Regions from separate parts of the Homo sapiens genome. Here region 2 is linked to region 1. Evidence: promoter capture Hi-C in 16 types of primary human blood cells and fetal thymus (Javierre and others, 2016). All regions are on one chromosome and are shown on one strand. The core of a region is centred on a gene start or on the middle of the fragment in contact, and the rest is flanking DNA. Distances in the headings are between cores, read along the strand shown.

Region 1 (7,115 bases), core at 1,490-3,989:
GCATAAGGTGAAGTGGAAAGAAGGAGCTAATTCCCTTCTGGTTAACGCAGGAAAATTCCCGAATTTAGAATTTTAAAAATGCAAAAGGATAAATGAAAGATAGTGTGGAAACAGTGTGGTTAGCAGGAAAAGACTAATAACTTTAACTCATTTCCAAGAGTCAACACACTGTCTGTGTTATTCTGCATATGTAATTCTGACTCCTCCAAGCAGAAGTTAGAATTGGCGCAAACCTGCTATCATAACGCTGTCAACAACACTGCAGATCGCAAAGATTAAACTTACCCTCCAGGAATAACCACTTTCTAGATCATCATCTATTTCTCTTCGGCACACAGCTCTTACAGTCATGCAGTGAGGTTTCCATAAAGAGTCACTGTTTCTTATTGTGTCATTCCAGCTCCTGCATGTCAATGAAGCCCTGCACAGACTCCGAATGTCCAGCTGACTGAAAATTTTAAAAGTGATTTCTGCAGGCAGCAGTTCAAAAAAGTTGTTTTGACTCTCATTTTTTTCCTTCTCAGCATCCACAGAGTTCGCTTCTGTGTGAGAAACTCTTAAATTATTGTTTCTCTTGGAGTTTTTATGCATAGCTTAATGTTTTAAGTTATCCTCATATGTAACCTAAAAGGCAAAATTTAAACATGCTCAGTCTCCAAATAGGAGTATAAATCCTACTTTAAGTCAGATGCTTTTTGGGTATAATTTAAGAACTCTTTCTTGACTTTAGCTTCTCAATCTGTAAAATGGGCCAATGCTGCCGCTCTCCTGAAAGTTCTTGCAAGGATTAACAGTGATAGTGGGTAAAATATCTAGTCTTGCTACATCTGAATTGCACATGGGAGGCACCCAACATGTTAGTTTCACTCTCACCCAGGCTGGAGTGCAGATGTGTCATAATAGCTCACTGCAGCCTCAAACTCCAGCCTCAAGCGATTCTCTTGACTCAGCGTACCCCGCCCCTCTTTAAAAAAAAAAAAAAGAAAAAAAAAAAAACAGAAAACCAAAAACTGTTTTACGGAGAAATGGTTCTTGCTATGTTGTCCAGGCTGGTCTTGAACTCTTGTCCTCAAGCAATCCTTCTGCCTCAGCCTCCCAGAGTGCTGGGATGACAGGTATGAGCCACCATACCCGGTACTTTTGTACCTTTGAAAATGTATATGAGTCAATCCTATTAAACTCCTGAATACTTGTTGTACATGGGAACTGATGCCTCATCATTAATTTGCAATTTGTGACTTAATCATAAACTTGCTGGACTTCTAGTTGTTTATATAAGAATTTTATCTACTTGTATCTTATAGGTAGGTAGGTGCTTACATTTGACACAACTACTATCTGAAATGGACAAGAAGATGAGATCTGGATTATGAAACAAAGTCTCAAATATTCAACTCAGTCATAAGAGTAGTGTTTTAGAAATGGCCCCTTGAAGCTATCCTACATGCATAATTACAAGCTAAGGATAATAGTCACTGAAGACATCAAGCAACAGTGAGTGACAACTGTAAACAATGTTTAGAACTCAGCTAGGTACAGTATGTGACTCTTTGAAGCCCAGATTTAAAGCTCAGTTTCAGCTAATTTACCTAAGGTGAATGGTGTAGGCTTCCCAAATCAGTTGAAAGCATGACTGGGTACATCACCATCCTTGAGTTACTTTTGTATATAAAGACAGCTTGTATTCACTTAAAATCAGTTTATTCCATTTTGCACTTCCTTTTATAACGGGGGTTGGTTGTGCAAGAGGAGAGGTTTGAGGTAAATACTTCTTTTAACTCAGCTGAACACAAATCTCTTTTCTAGACGAGCTACTCAGCTATGTTTTCGGACTTGCCAAGACCACGGTGGCTCCCATTCATGATCCAGATTAGCTGTGGTGGCTGGAACTGCAGTCTGTGTTCAACAGAGGTCTTCTTCTTGAGGGTTAGGAGAAGTAAGAAAGCAAACGTAAAAACGGGTGAGTCAAGAGCAAGTTTTTGCCATGCACCTTGGCCCCTCCCACCACCAATACAAACCAAAGCCAAACCACAACGTTCTTGAAAAGAATCTCACATTAGGAAAACGTTACAGTGCATTTAAACGTTACAGTGTGTTTATCCACTTCTCCCAGGATCTTACTGGGAGAATAAAATGCGTCCCCTTGTGGAATTCCTGTAACGGGAATGAAGGCTTTTGAATTTCACAGCAGGGGATACCTTTGCGAGTTTCTAAAATCCCACTAGGAATCTTTCTTCTACGTCCAGGTTCGCCTGGATGCCTGGAAACGACCCCTCTTCTGCCCTTTCTCCTTTATGAACTGAGCTTTCCTGAATTCTCTCTCAAGTGAAGTAAAAGCTCGTCCCCCTTTCAACTATCATTCGGAGGGATAGATCGGCGGCAGCGCAGTCGGAGGGGCGGGGAGCCCCACTCCGTCCAAATCCCGCGGGTCAGGGCTAATCACCCCACGTCCCGTCTGAGCCACCCTCCTTGTGTCCCGCGCGGGTTGCAGCTGCTGGAACCCAAGAACACAGGGCACTGACAAGTGACAACAACCGTCAGCGTTGACTGTCACTGCGGCTCCAGGCCGCGGAGGGAAGGCTGAGCTTGCGTCCAGGCCGCGTCCCCGGGAGCGTAGACACCTAAGCCAACGGGAACGGAAGACCCTTCTACCTACTAGGCCGCGGTAGCTTCTCCTCCCGCGATTTAAATCCACCGGAATTCGAATCCTTCCCCATAGCTCTTCGCATCCCGCCCACCTGAGTCCCGCCCTGCTCAGAACTCGCGCAGGCGCCGAGAGGGGCGCGCAGTGCCTTTGGGGATTGGTAGTTTTTTCCAGGGCGTCTCCGCTCGGGAAAGGAAGTGAAGAAAGCCACCAGGACTACAAGGCCCGGCGTCCTCCAAGATGGGAGGGAGGTGAAAAGGGTGTTGGGGAATAAGCCGGGGTTTTTAAACAGTAGTTTTGAGGCGGCGAGACTGGGGAATCCCCGGTTGCGTCATTAGTAGGCGTGGAGGGGCGGGACTCGTGAAGCTGCGCTGGGGCCGGGCTCTGAGAGGACCGGCGCAGCCGCGGGGAGCCTTTGAGGCCCTCCCTCGGTGTTTTTTCCCAGGGCGTGGGCTTGCCCCGCGCGTGTCTGTGGAGGGCGGAAACAGCGGAGGGGCCAGTCTCCTGGCGAAGGGGCCTAATCCTTGCCCGCCATGTCCGGGGGCTTCGAGCTGCAGCCGCGGGACGGCGGTCCCCGGGTGGCCCTGGCGCCCGGGGAGACGGTGATCGGCCGCGGGCCGCTGCTGGGAGTAAGTGTGGGCGGGGGCTTAGCGGACCCCGAGAGCCGTGGAGTTCCGCGCCGGCTCCTGAAGACCGGCCCTAGTCCTGGCCGGTTTCCCCACCGCACTGGTCCGCCGGTCCGGATTTTAGAAGTTTGGGGCCGCACGTTTTTCAGTTACCTTTAAGCCAATTCACAAACATTTCTTTATGTTGCTTTTAAAACACTGACTGTATTACCATTATTATCTTATCCAGGGATTGGCAAACTAGTGCCTGGGGGCCAAATCCAGCCTATGTTTGTATGGCCCCATGAACTAAGAATGATTCTTAAATTCTGAAATGTAAAATGTAAACAAAAAATCTACTAATTTTTCAGGGGGAATAGTTGCTCCAAGGGTTGAGGGTATTGCGGCTTGTCTTGTAAAGCCTAAAATATTTACAGTAGTGTCTGGTCCTTTACAGAAAAGTTTGCCAAACTGTGATATTACGTCTTCTAGGCTAATTTCTTTTAACCTTTGGTCTCCTTTGCAGAGCTGTGTGGACCTTATTTATTTATATTATTTATTATTTCCAGTAAAATGAGTAGCTAACCCTTCATAAGTAATGTGTATAGCGTTCGTGTCATTGGTCTAAGGAGACATTACCTATACCAACATCTTTAACTGTCTCAAGACCGTATCAGTTAGCTATTTTTATTATCCTCATTGTTCAGATGAGAAAATTGAGCCATACATACATTATTTAAAGTCCATACATAAGCTTTTGGACACATAATGCCACAAAGCTAAATATTCTCTACCTTCTTTGGGAGAGGTTTAGGAATAAGAACATTTGCATATTGCATTCTGGAATTCTATAGATCTCTTAAGTACATCTAGTTTTCTATTTTGTTCTTTAACATTCAACATTTCTTGTTTGGTGCTCACTGTGTAGAACATTTTGCAGATTCTAGCACTGTGGGGCATACAAAGATGAATGGAACATGGGTCCCTACCCTTTAGGAGTTTTCTCTTGGGACCGGGGAGACACCTGTGTCAGTGAGCTAACACCAAGGAGTAAGGAGTGTGTACTGTTGTCCTGGTTAACTTCCAGAGTCTAAATGGAACCATTGGTACTTGCCTTAGGTCCCTTCTGGGAGCAGGGAAAGGAGTGGTAGTTTAAGATTGTATTATGGAAGCTGGTCCTAAAGGGGTGTGTGTGTGTGTGTGTGTGTGTGTGTGTGTTGTGTGTTGTGTGTTGTGTACATGCACATGTGCATGTGGTAAGGTTATTGAGGAAGTAGATATTCAATTGCTGTTCATTTTTTTACTGGACAAGTGATTATTTAAATATTTAACATCATTTCTATTTTTTTCATCGTTTGTTGGCCTATACAAACACTGGAAGGAACTGTCTGGAGGCTTTATTTTTCTTTTAAATTCGTAGGTTTGAAACTTAAGAGTATGTGCTTAATCTAGTAATCATATGTCTGGTGACTAACGAGTTTTGACTTGCTTAAGAAATTGTCACCAGTAGAGTACTGTGGGTCTGGTTAAAAGGTGGATGAATTTTAGGGCCGTGGTTTAGAAACATGGCAACAGATTGCAGACCGTTTCATTATTTGTAGCTTGTTCTTTGTGTTGTCGACTTGCTAATGTGAGATGAGCCTATTTGGTATCTGTTTTTAAAAATGGTAAGGAGTGAAAGCTGGGCAATTACCTGGTCAAGATTTTGCTTTTCCTTTTGAAATAACATTCAGGGATGAGATTCTTTTGCCAAGGTTGGCGTGTATCAGAAGTGGTTATGAATGACATCCTAAGTGTGTTAAAGGAAAAATTTGGAGAACAAACAAATCGCCTTGTAGTTTTTTCGATTTTGGAGCTGACAGATGCACTCGATTCTTCTCTGCACTGGTTAAAACACAACATAAGGGCTCCTGTTTCCAACAACAGCAATTCCAGTGAGATTTATTTTTGTATTGTGAGAGAGCGAAGACTGAGTTCTAAGTGGAAAACTCAGTAAGTTCATTGTAAATTGGAATCGGAAACGATTAATATAAATAAGGATGATTTTGAACTTTCTTAATTGGGCATGTTTTTCTGAGACAAGCTTCACAAACCTTGATGGCCACACAAACATAAAAGTTTATAATCTGACTGTGTAAAATAGTCTTGGTAGTAAAACAGTTTGACAATGAGAATGGTTTTGTATTTTTATGGTGGTAGGAAAACACAACAGAGAAACCTGTCACAGAGAACAAAGGACAATGAAATTTAATCTTTCTTGTTCCCTTTGCTTTCATGTGAGTCATCAGAGAACCCCAGGTCTTTGTTTACTAGATTTTGATTCTGCTCCATGATTGGCATCAGTTAGAAGGTTTTACAGCAGGATTAATCTTCAGAGAACTTGAGTTAAAACAGCCAATCCAAAAGATTACATATTGTGTGATTCCATTTATATAACATCATTGAAATTGCGAAATTGCAAAATTTCAAAAATGGAGAACAGATTAGTGGTTGCCAAAGGTTAAAAAATTAGGCAGCAGGGCAGAAGGGAATGGATATGGCTATAAAATAGCAACATGAGGGATATTTGTGGTGATAGAAATGTGCTTTGTCTGGACTGTGTCAGTATCAATATCTTAGGTTGATATATTGTACTATAGTTTTGTAAGACGTTACCATTAGGGGAAACTGGATAAATGGTACAAGAGATATTTCTATATTATATCTTTCAACTACATGTGAATCTACCATTATCTTAAGAAATTTAATTTAAAAGGGTTTTACAGTACGACATGTCAAGCACTGTTAGGCCAAAGTATTTGCTTTATGGGTTTTAATTAAAGCTGTTACACTCTTAAATGAAATCTACTATTTCTGATTTCAGATTTTTCTTATTTTGTTTTGACAGCAGGGATTATATGACACATTTCTTTATGATCTATTTTCCTCCTAGGAAACAAGATAGCAAAAGATATCTAGTGATACTTTCTCAATGTAGATGTAATTAAATTGACTGCTTTGATTAAAAGGAGAAGAGTCCTCAGTTGGGGGAACAGGGAAGGTCATAGGCTTCAGTATAGACTCTTCAGGTGGCATCAGTTCACCACTTCTAAGAATGTTGTAAATGTTCTACAAAGTTTACACAAAGTAACCATCCCCTGACCTGGCAGCTCTATACTTTTAACTGCTTGTTGCAGAATCCTGGCTGTCCTGGAATGCTGTTCCTACCTGCTCCAACATAGGTTTCTTCCCTTACGTTTCTTTTATTTCTAGATTTGCCCTTCCCTCATTTTATTATTTAGCCTACAACCAGTGCCTAGCACACAGTAGGCCTTTAACACGTGATTTCTTCCTTCCATTTCGGCATCTCAGCCTCTCATTCACTCTACCCTCAAAAAGAGCCTAATTGTGACTTAGATATGAAAAAGGGTTATCATTGAGTTTTGAAGTGAATTTAAATATAGTAAAGATGCAGTCCTACCAACTGCTAAATCTTGAGTAGCATTCATAATGAATTAAGTTTTAACATTTTTCCTGTTTTGTTGATTGATAATTCGCTAAATTCAGGAAATAGCTGATAAATATATACTATGGTTGGATGGGAGGGAGTATAGGAGAAATAAAGGTGAATGAGAAACAAGTCTTTGCTCTCAAGAAACTTATAGTTTTGTAGGGTTAAGAGACAAATAAACAAGTATTAGTAACTAAATAAGGCTACAACCTCACATGGGGACTGGCGCCAGGCTGACACTTGGAGTAAGCGAAGTGGGAGGGAAGAAGAAAAACAACACAGGGACAGTGATAAATGACAACAGTTCTGCCTCAGTGTTGGGAAGGCCACAAGGAGAGGGTCTCTATGCAATCCCTGCTACTTTCCCCTATTCCCA
Region 2 (7,115 bases), core at 2,340-4,839, 1.4 Mb after region 1:
GAGACTTCCTTCATCACATCTTATGTTGAAATCACTTTCTGTAGTCAAAGTATACCAAAACCAATTTATCTGAACTAAATTCTAAAGTATGGTTATACAAACCATATACATCTGGTTACCAAACATAAATGCTGAACATTCCATATTATTATAGTTAATGTCTTAATCCAGCTTGCAAGTGAATGGAAAAAAAAATAAGCTTCAAACTAGGTATTCTGGGAATGATGTAATGCTCTGAATTTAGTATGATATAAAGAAAACTTTTTTGTGCTAAAAATACTTTTTAAAATCAATTTTGTTGATTGTAGTAATTTCTATTTGCACTGTGCCTTTCAACTCCAGAAACATTCTGAAGATGTACTTGGATTTAATTAAAAAGTTCACTTTGTAAGAACGTGGAAAAATAATTTTAATTTAAAAATGGTGTTTTTAGGCCGGGGGCGGGGGCTCACGCCAGTAATCCCAACACTTTGGGAGGCCAAGGCGGGTGGATCACCTAAGGTCAGGAGTTCAAGACTAGCCTGGCCAACATGGAGAAACTGCATCTCTACTAAAAATATAAAAATTAGCCGGGTGTGGTGGCTGGTGCCTGTAATCCCAGCCACTCGGAGGCTGAGTCAGGGAGAACTGCTTGAACCCAGGAGGCAGGAGGCAAAGGTTGCAGTGAGCCGAGATCACGCCAGCCTGGGCGACAGAGCGAGAATCCATCTAAAAAAAAAAAAAAAAAAAGTGTCTTTAAAGTGAGGTATAGTCTTTCTCTGATCCACTTTTCACCTTCTGAGGTTTTTCATCTTGGCCCCTGAAAGGAGCTATTTTTGAAGGACTTGTGTTACTCAGTTTCTACAGGAATTACAAGATAAGAAAAAAAAAATCATATTTAGTCTTATGCGTGCCTACTGGCTAATGTTCACATATGCCAAACACTACTCAATAACATAAAATAATGTATGAACTTATTCTCTGGAAATGAGTGATGCCCTCTGCTCTAAGTAGACCATTTATATTAAATATCATAAATGTATAAAGGACATTCATATTCTTATAGTGGGAATACTTGCCTTTTTTGTTGATTTTATAGCATCCATTGTATTTTGGTGAGTGAAATAATAAGAATTTTTTAGTTTAGTGTTGTTTATTATAAAAGCTACAGCTACTGGTAGAAGCTACTTATGTGAATATTTAGTCACTCCAGTTACTTACAGGAAATAATACTACCACTTCAATGCCTTCCCAGAAGACCACAGAATCTCCACATCAGCTTTGTCTTTGGAAGCATGGTGATTTTTTTGGTAGAAGTTTTATCTTTAAATGATATGTAGCTTAGCCAAAATTTTAAAACAAATAGCATTGATTCACCAGAAGATTTCTAGAAGGTGGGATAAAGTCACCCTGGACGAATGTTTGTCATATTGAATTAGCATGACTTTGAGATATAATTATGTTTGTTTTTCCCTCCCACTGTCCACTTACATTTATTCAGTGGGCAGTTCTTCCCCTTCTTCAGATGTAAATTCAGATAGAGTCATGACTTTTCTGTTCACTCTTAGGTTTTAAAGTCCTACTGTGTAGTCCCTTAAGGTCATAAAACAGTGTCATTTTAGTAAGTAATATATCCAGTCAAAATTGCAAGCTTGATTTACAGTTGATGCTTCTTCCCTCACTCACCTCTGGCCTATTGCAAGTAGGAAGCTGGTTTCTGGGGAAAGGGAGACCATGGGCTTCTCTTCTTTTTCCACCTAGGTTTCCTTCAATGTTCTCCCCCTGCCCCAACCTACCATGTCTGGGTTGTAGCAAAGAAGAGAGTTAAGGGGAGCAGGAAAGTTGTTACCTGACTGTCATTGCTGTGGTGGTAGAGGATCAGCCCTATGTGACCCTGACAGACTAAAGTTGATTCTTGTGGGCATTCTTGTGGGTTCCTTTGTCAACCTCATCACGCTACTCACCTGAGGTTCCTCTGGCAAGGCAAATGTGTACTCCTTTTTCAGCCTCTAGGAATTTGGTGACTCTTTGAGGTTCTCAGTGCTGAAGTTCATTGCCTTCCTCCCAGGCCTGTTGGGCAGGACCTAAGCTGTCTCATGGTGGTCCACATCTGCTCCATGGGAAACACCTGCACGTTCTTTGTGCTGGCAAATTCTGTGTATGCAAGCTGATCCCTCTGCAGCCATTATTCTCCGCCTCCCACCTCCACCCCAAGCTGCCTCGGCTAGCCTCTCTCGGTTCAGATTTCTCATGCATGAATCAGACATTAGTCCACGGGGACCCTCAAACTACGTATACTGCCAATGGGAGTCTAAATTGGTACCTTGATGCAATCAACCCAGAGAGCAATTTGGTAATAGCTAACAAAGTTGCAGATTTCGCAGCAAATTCACTTTTGGGAATCTGCTTGGTGAATCCATTGCACATGATGTTCATTGCTGCTCTGTAAGGCCGTTAAAGTAGAAATAACCTCTCTCACTAAGGAATGTAAAAACAAATATGGGTCAGTCATACAATGAGCAGTGAAAATTATCTAGCGATTGACCAAATGGATAAATCTTGAGAGTATAATTTTGAGAGAGGAGAAAGGTGCACAATGAGAGGTACAACTATGATTCCATTCCATGATATGTCTAAACATGCAAAAGAAAATATTATTTATGGGTATGCATATAAGGACATGCATGGACATGATATACAACATTCTCAGCACAGTGATTGCCACTGGGGAGGGAGACAGAATGAGATGGAGGAGGTACGCAGGGGCTTCTGCCTATATGTATTGTTCTATTTAAAAAAGAATGAATCATTGATTACACCTCAATAAAGCTGGGAGGAAAAAAGAATGAAAGCAAGTCTGATAAAATTTCAAGCTAGTGGTCGGTCCACAGGAATCTGTATTACTCTATTTGAAATATTTTCATTATTTTACTTAAAAAGTAACAGAAGGGAGTCAGGGAATGAACGCTGGCTGTCCGGAGTCCATCACAAGAGCTGCTACTACTCCAAGCAGACACTAGTAAATTTTGCTAGGGCCTCCTGAAGGCACTTTTGAGTCCAGACAGTCATGGTGCCAGACCCTATTCGGACATCCCACTGGCACTTGAGAGGAAAGGAAAGGAGTGCCGGGAACGTTCCCATAACTTAACGGGTTCCATTCACGTCTACAGCAGGGGAGGGCTCATGTTAAGGAAGCCCAGGAATCCAGCATATCGCCTCATCCTAGGGCCCCCTCTCACAGGAGGCCACGCCCAAGCAAGCAGAGCGTGGCCCCAGCAAGCGCCGAGCTCCCGCAAGGAGACCAAATAGCTTCGGGGTTTTGCCACTAGCTTAGCACAGGCCCATAAGCACCGGGGACTCAAGGCACCTTTGTAGAAACAATGAGTGACTGGAGTCCCAGGTCTTGCCACTACAGAGGCGCGTATGAACCACGGTTTAACACTACGTCTACGCCGAAGTTCGGGTTAGTCAGAGGCCACGCCCACCGCAGGCCCGAAAACACCAGCCTGCACTGGCGCGCCGGATTGTGCGCAGGCTCCACCTGCCACGCACGCACGCCTTGCCCCGCCCCTTCCGGAGGCTCGCCGTACGCATGCGCCCTCCGTCCCGCGCTTTGTTGCGAAAGCGAGGGGGCGAGGTGCTGCGGTGCTAGAGCGCGGCGCGACCGGACGCTGCGGGCGGGGAAGAGGATGGAGACTGTGGCGTCCGCTGCAACGGTTGGGGCTGCGCGTGAGAAGGTGGCGGTGTAGGCACCTGCGCTCGGGGAAGGCTGGCGGCGGCGGCCGAGCCATGGCGGGAGACCCCCTTCTCTGGGCTCCCTGAAGTCTCGGGGAGCCGTGACCCATGGGATCGTTGAGCAGCCGGGTGCTGCGCCAGCCAAGACCAGCCCTTGCCCAGCAGGCGCAGGGTGCCAGGGCGGGGGGCTCGGCCCGGAGGCCGGACACTGGAGACGATGCGGCGGGCCACGGATTCTGTTACTGTGCGGGCAGCCACAAGCGCAAGCGGAGCAGCGGGTCCTTCTGCTACTGTCACCCTGACTCGGAGACGGACGAGGATGAGGAGGAGGGGGACGAGCAGCAGCGGCTCCTCAACACCCCTCGAAGGTACGTGGGGGCACGCACCCGCGCGGACCCGGACCCGCACCTGTTGGGCCTGGGGCCGAGCCGGCGCCTCGTGCGCTTGCGGGGTGCAGCGCTCCCCAGCCTATGGAGAGGGGACGTGCCCTTGACAGGGTGAATGTGGAAGCCGGCCCGATGCGGGGCGGACTGGGGAGCGCCTTGGGAGACGCCAGGTGTTCCGCATTTTCAACCACAGACGCTTCCAGGGTGTTGTTACAGCCCCAAGATGAGGATGAGAAACGCCAAGCCCGAGCTCGCGTCTCGTTAAACCTTAGAGACGCCCGGCTGGCTGGCCTTCCCAGTCCACCTTTGCCCTCTCAAGTGGGTAGCCGCAGAGTAAGTTGTTTTGCATCCGGTTGCCTTAGTACAGACACTAAATGTAATCTCTGAAATAGGCACTCTTATTGTCGCCCACTCAGTGGAGGGTAAGTAATTGCACACAGGAGTTCTTGTTAATTGTAAAGGTGAAGTTTATCAATAGTGTACATTTGTTCCTAACTAGGAACAGAGTCTGTGCAAGTTTCTAGTAGTTGATGAAGTCGTTGACCGTGGATGTACTGTATGTAGGGCGGTGCTGCTGCAGCTTGTTTAACCCCTTTTTTTTTTTTTTTTGGATGAGTTGAAAGATGGAATATTGACTTGTGACCTGGAATGTAGTTTATAGGTAGAATATATGCTTACACAAACAATTTGGTTTTTCTGCTTTTGTTTTTAAAGGTTATTTGGTAGGGTCACACATGAAATTTTTTAAATGATTTCTTTTTCTTTTTGAGACAGAGCCTTGCTCTGTCACTCAGGCCGGAGTGCAGTGGTGCGATCTCAACTCACTGCAACCTCCACCTCCTGGTTCAAGCGATTCTTGTGCCTCAGCCTCCCGAGTAGCTGGGACTACCGGCGCGCACCACCACGCCTGGCTAATGTTTTCTGTTTTTAGTAGAGACAGGTTTCATCGTGTTGGCCAGGCTTGTCTCAAATTCCCGACCTCAGGTGATCTGCTGGCCTCAGCCTCCCAAAGTGCTGGAATTATAGGCGTGAGCCACTGCGCACCCGGCCTAAAATTAAACTTTAAAAGCAGATTCAAAAAGGTTTTGCTATACAAGTGTTATATATTGTAAAAAAGGAATCATAGATTAAAAACTTAATAGTTTGGTTTATAAAACCTTTTGTACCTTTTTTTGTATGAATATTTGTATTTATTATACAAAAATGTACCCCTACTGTGAATACTATTCAGTAACTTTTTTAATTGTTTGTTTGATTTTTGGAGCTTTTTTCTAAAGGAGTCTCACTATATTGCCCAGGCTGGTCTCAAACGCCTGGGTTGAAGCGATCCTCCCACCTAAGCCTCCCAAAGGGCTGAGATTACAGGTGTGAGCCACCATGCCTGACCCTGTAACCTTTTTGAAGCGTCAGTGTAGCATAGTTTTTTTTTCCTTTGGAAAAATTTTTCTCTATTTTGAGACAGGGTCTCGCTGTGTCGCCCAGGCTGGAATGCAGTGGTGGGATCATGACTCACTCTACCTCGACCTCACAGAATCAGGCAATTCTCCCACCTCAGCCTTCTGTGTAGCTGAGACCACAGGCATGCACCACCACACCCAGCTAATTTTTTTATTTGTAGAAACAAGGTCTCACTCTGTTGCCCACCCAGGCTGGCCTGGAACTCCTGGGTTCAAGTGATCCTGTTGCCTTGACCTCCCAAAGTGTTGGGATTACAGGTGTGAGCCACCATTGCCAACCTATAGCATAGTTTTAAGAGTTCTGAGTTCTTGGCCAGGTGCAGTGGCTCATGCCTATAATCCCAGCACTTTGGGAGGCTGAAGCAGACAGATCACCTGAGGTCAGGAGTTCAAAACCAGCCTGGCCAACATGGCGAAACCCTGTCTCTACTAAAAATATAAAAACTAACCAGTCGTGGTGGCAGCTGCCTGTAATCCCAGCTACTCGGGACGCTGAGGCAGAAGAATGGCTTGAACCTGGGAGGCGAGGTTGCAGTGAGCCAAGATCGCACAACTGCACTCCAGTCTGGGTGACAAAGTGAGACTCTGTCTCAAAAAAAAAAAAAAAATTCTGACTTCTTGTCTGTATTCTGCACTTAATAGCCTTATTTCCCTCATATGTAAATTGGAGATATAAATACCTGCCTTTTAGGCTTTGACAAATATGAGAACAAACAAATGCACAATGTCTAGAATGTAAGCATGCAGTAAATATGTCTCCTTGATGAATTGGCCCCTTTATCATAACAAAATGTTCATCCTTCTTTATCCCTAGTAATTTAGCCACTACCACATACATACATACATATATACATTTATTTATTTATATTTAGGGGGTACAGCTGCAGGTTTCTCACATGTATATAACAAGTAGTGGTGAAGTCTGGGATTGTAGTGTATCCATCAGCCACTTTCTTTTGATAAATGTCTGAATGATATCTTATTTTCCCTCCTTTCACTTTTTACCTGTGTATATTTAAAACAGATATCAAGTAAACAGCATATAGTTGAGTCTTGCTTCTTTTGTCCAACAGGACAATCTAACCTTTCAATTAGTAGTTAGACCACTTATATTTAACGTAATTATTGAAATATATGTCACAGTGCATTTGAAGGAGAGAAATCACACAGCAATTTGAATACAGGAAATTTAATATAAACATTATTAACAAGGCACAGAGAATTAACTACTGAGGACAAAACGCTAAGGTAAAGAGATCCCTAGAAAATACATGTAGTAGTCAGTACTTCTAAGGCTGAGGCAGAATAGCCACAGAAGGAACAAATTTGGAATAGGTGCCCCCACCCCTTTCCCAAGCTAAGATTCAGATGATGTTGAAGGAGGTGTGGCTGTAGCCCACTGGATGGTGGAAAAGTTTGCTCAAGTGTGGTAAGCTGAGGCTGGCAAGTAGGACACTGCCTACTAGGATGCCAACAAAATTATTTGGAGGCCTTTTGGCCCAGAAGGCTAAAGATATTTACTATCTAGACCTTTACAGAAAAAGTGTACCAACTCCTA

What was found. Contacts are between HindIII fragments. The CHiCAGO score rates a contact against its expected background, and 5 or more counts as called.
Region 2: the fragment with the promoter of GMCL1 here is called in contact with the fragment with the promoter of FBXO48 in region 1 in 1 of 17 cell types (fetal thymus); the score reaches 5.1 in fetal thymus.

Annotation. Positions count from the first base shown.
Region 1 is chr2:68,464,555-68,471,669 of GRCh38, forward strand. It overlaps FBXO48 (F-box protein 48), which reads right to left and starts at 2,740. Exons shown (of 4, transcript NM_001024680.3): 1 at 2,657-2,740; 2 at 1,590-1,916; 3 at 286-624. The coding sequence starts at 591. It overlaps APLF (aprataxin and PNKP like factor), which reads left to right and starts at 3,031. Exons shown (of 10, transcript NM_173545.3): 1 at 3,031-3,273. The coding sequence starts at 3,178. RefSeq lists enhancers at 1,821-1,880, 1,974-2,869, 2,870-3,764 and a silencer at 3,106-3,315. The HindIII fragment of the contact is 4,492 bases long and covers 1-4,001 here.
Region 2 is chr2:69,826,071-69,833,185 of GRCh38, forward strand. It overlaps GMCL1 (germ cell-less 1, spermatogenesis associated), which reads left to right and starts at 3,590. Exons shown (of 14, transcript NM_178439.5): 1 at 3,590-4,082. The coding sequence starts at 3,823. LOC124906021 (a long non-coding RNA gene) reads right to left here and starts at 3,461. Exons shown (of 2, transcript XR_007086846.1): 1 at 1,944-3,461; 2 at 1-708. ANXA4 (annexin A4) reads left to right here. Exons shown (of 13, transcript NM_001153.5): 13 at 1-1,042. RefSeq lists enhancers at 2,626-3,547, 2,942-3,031, 3,548-4,468 and silencers at 3,442-3,671, 4,052-4,131, 4,079-4,254. The HindIII fragment of the contact is 7,336 bases long and covers 1,629-7,115 here.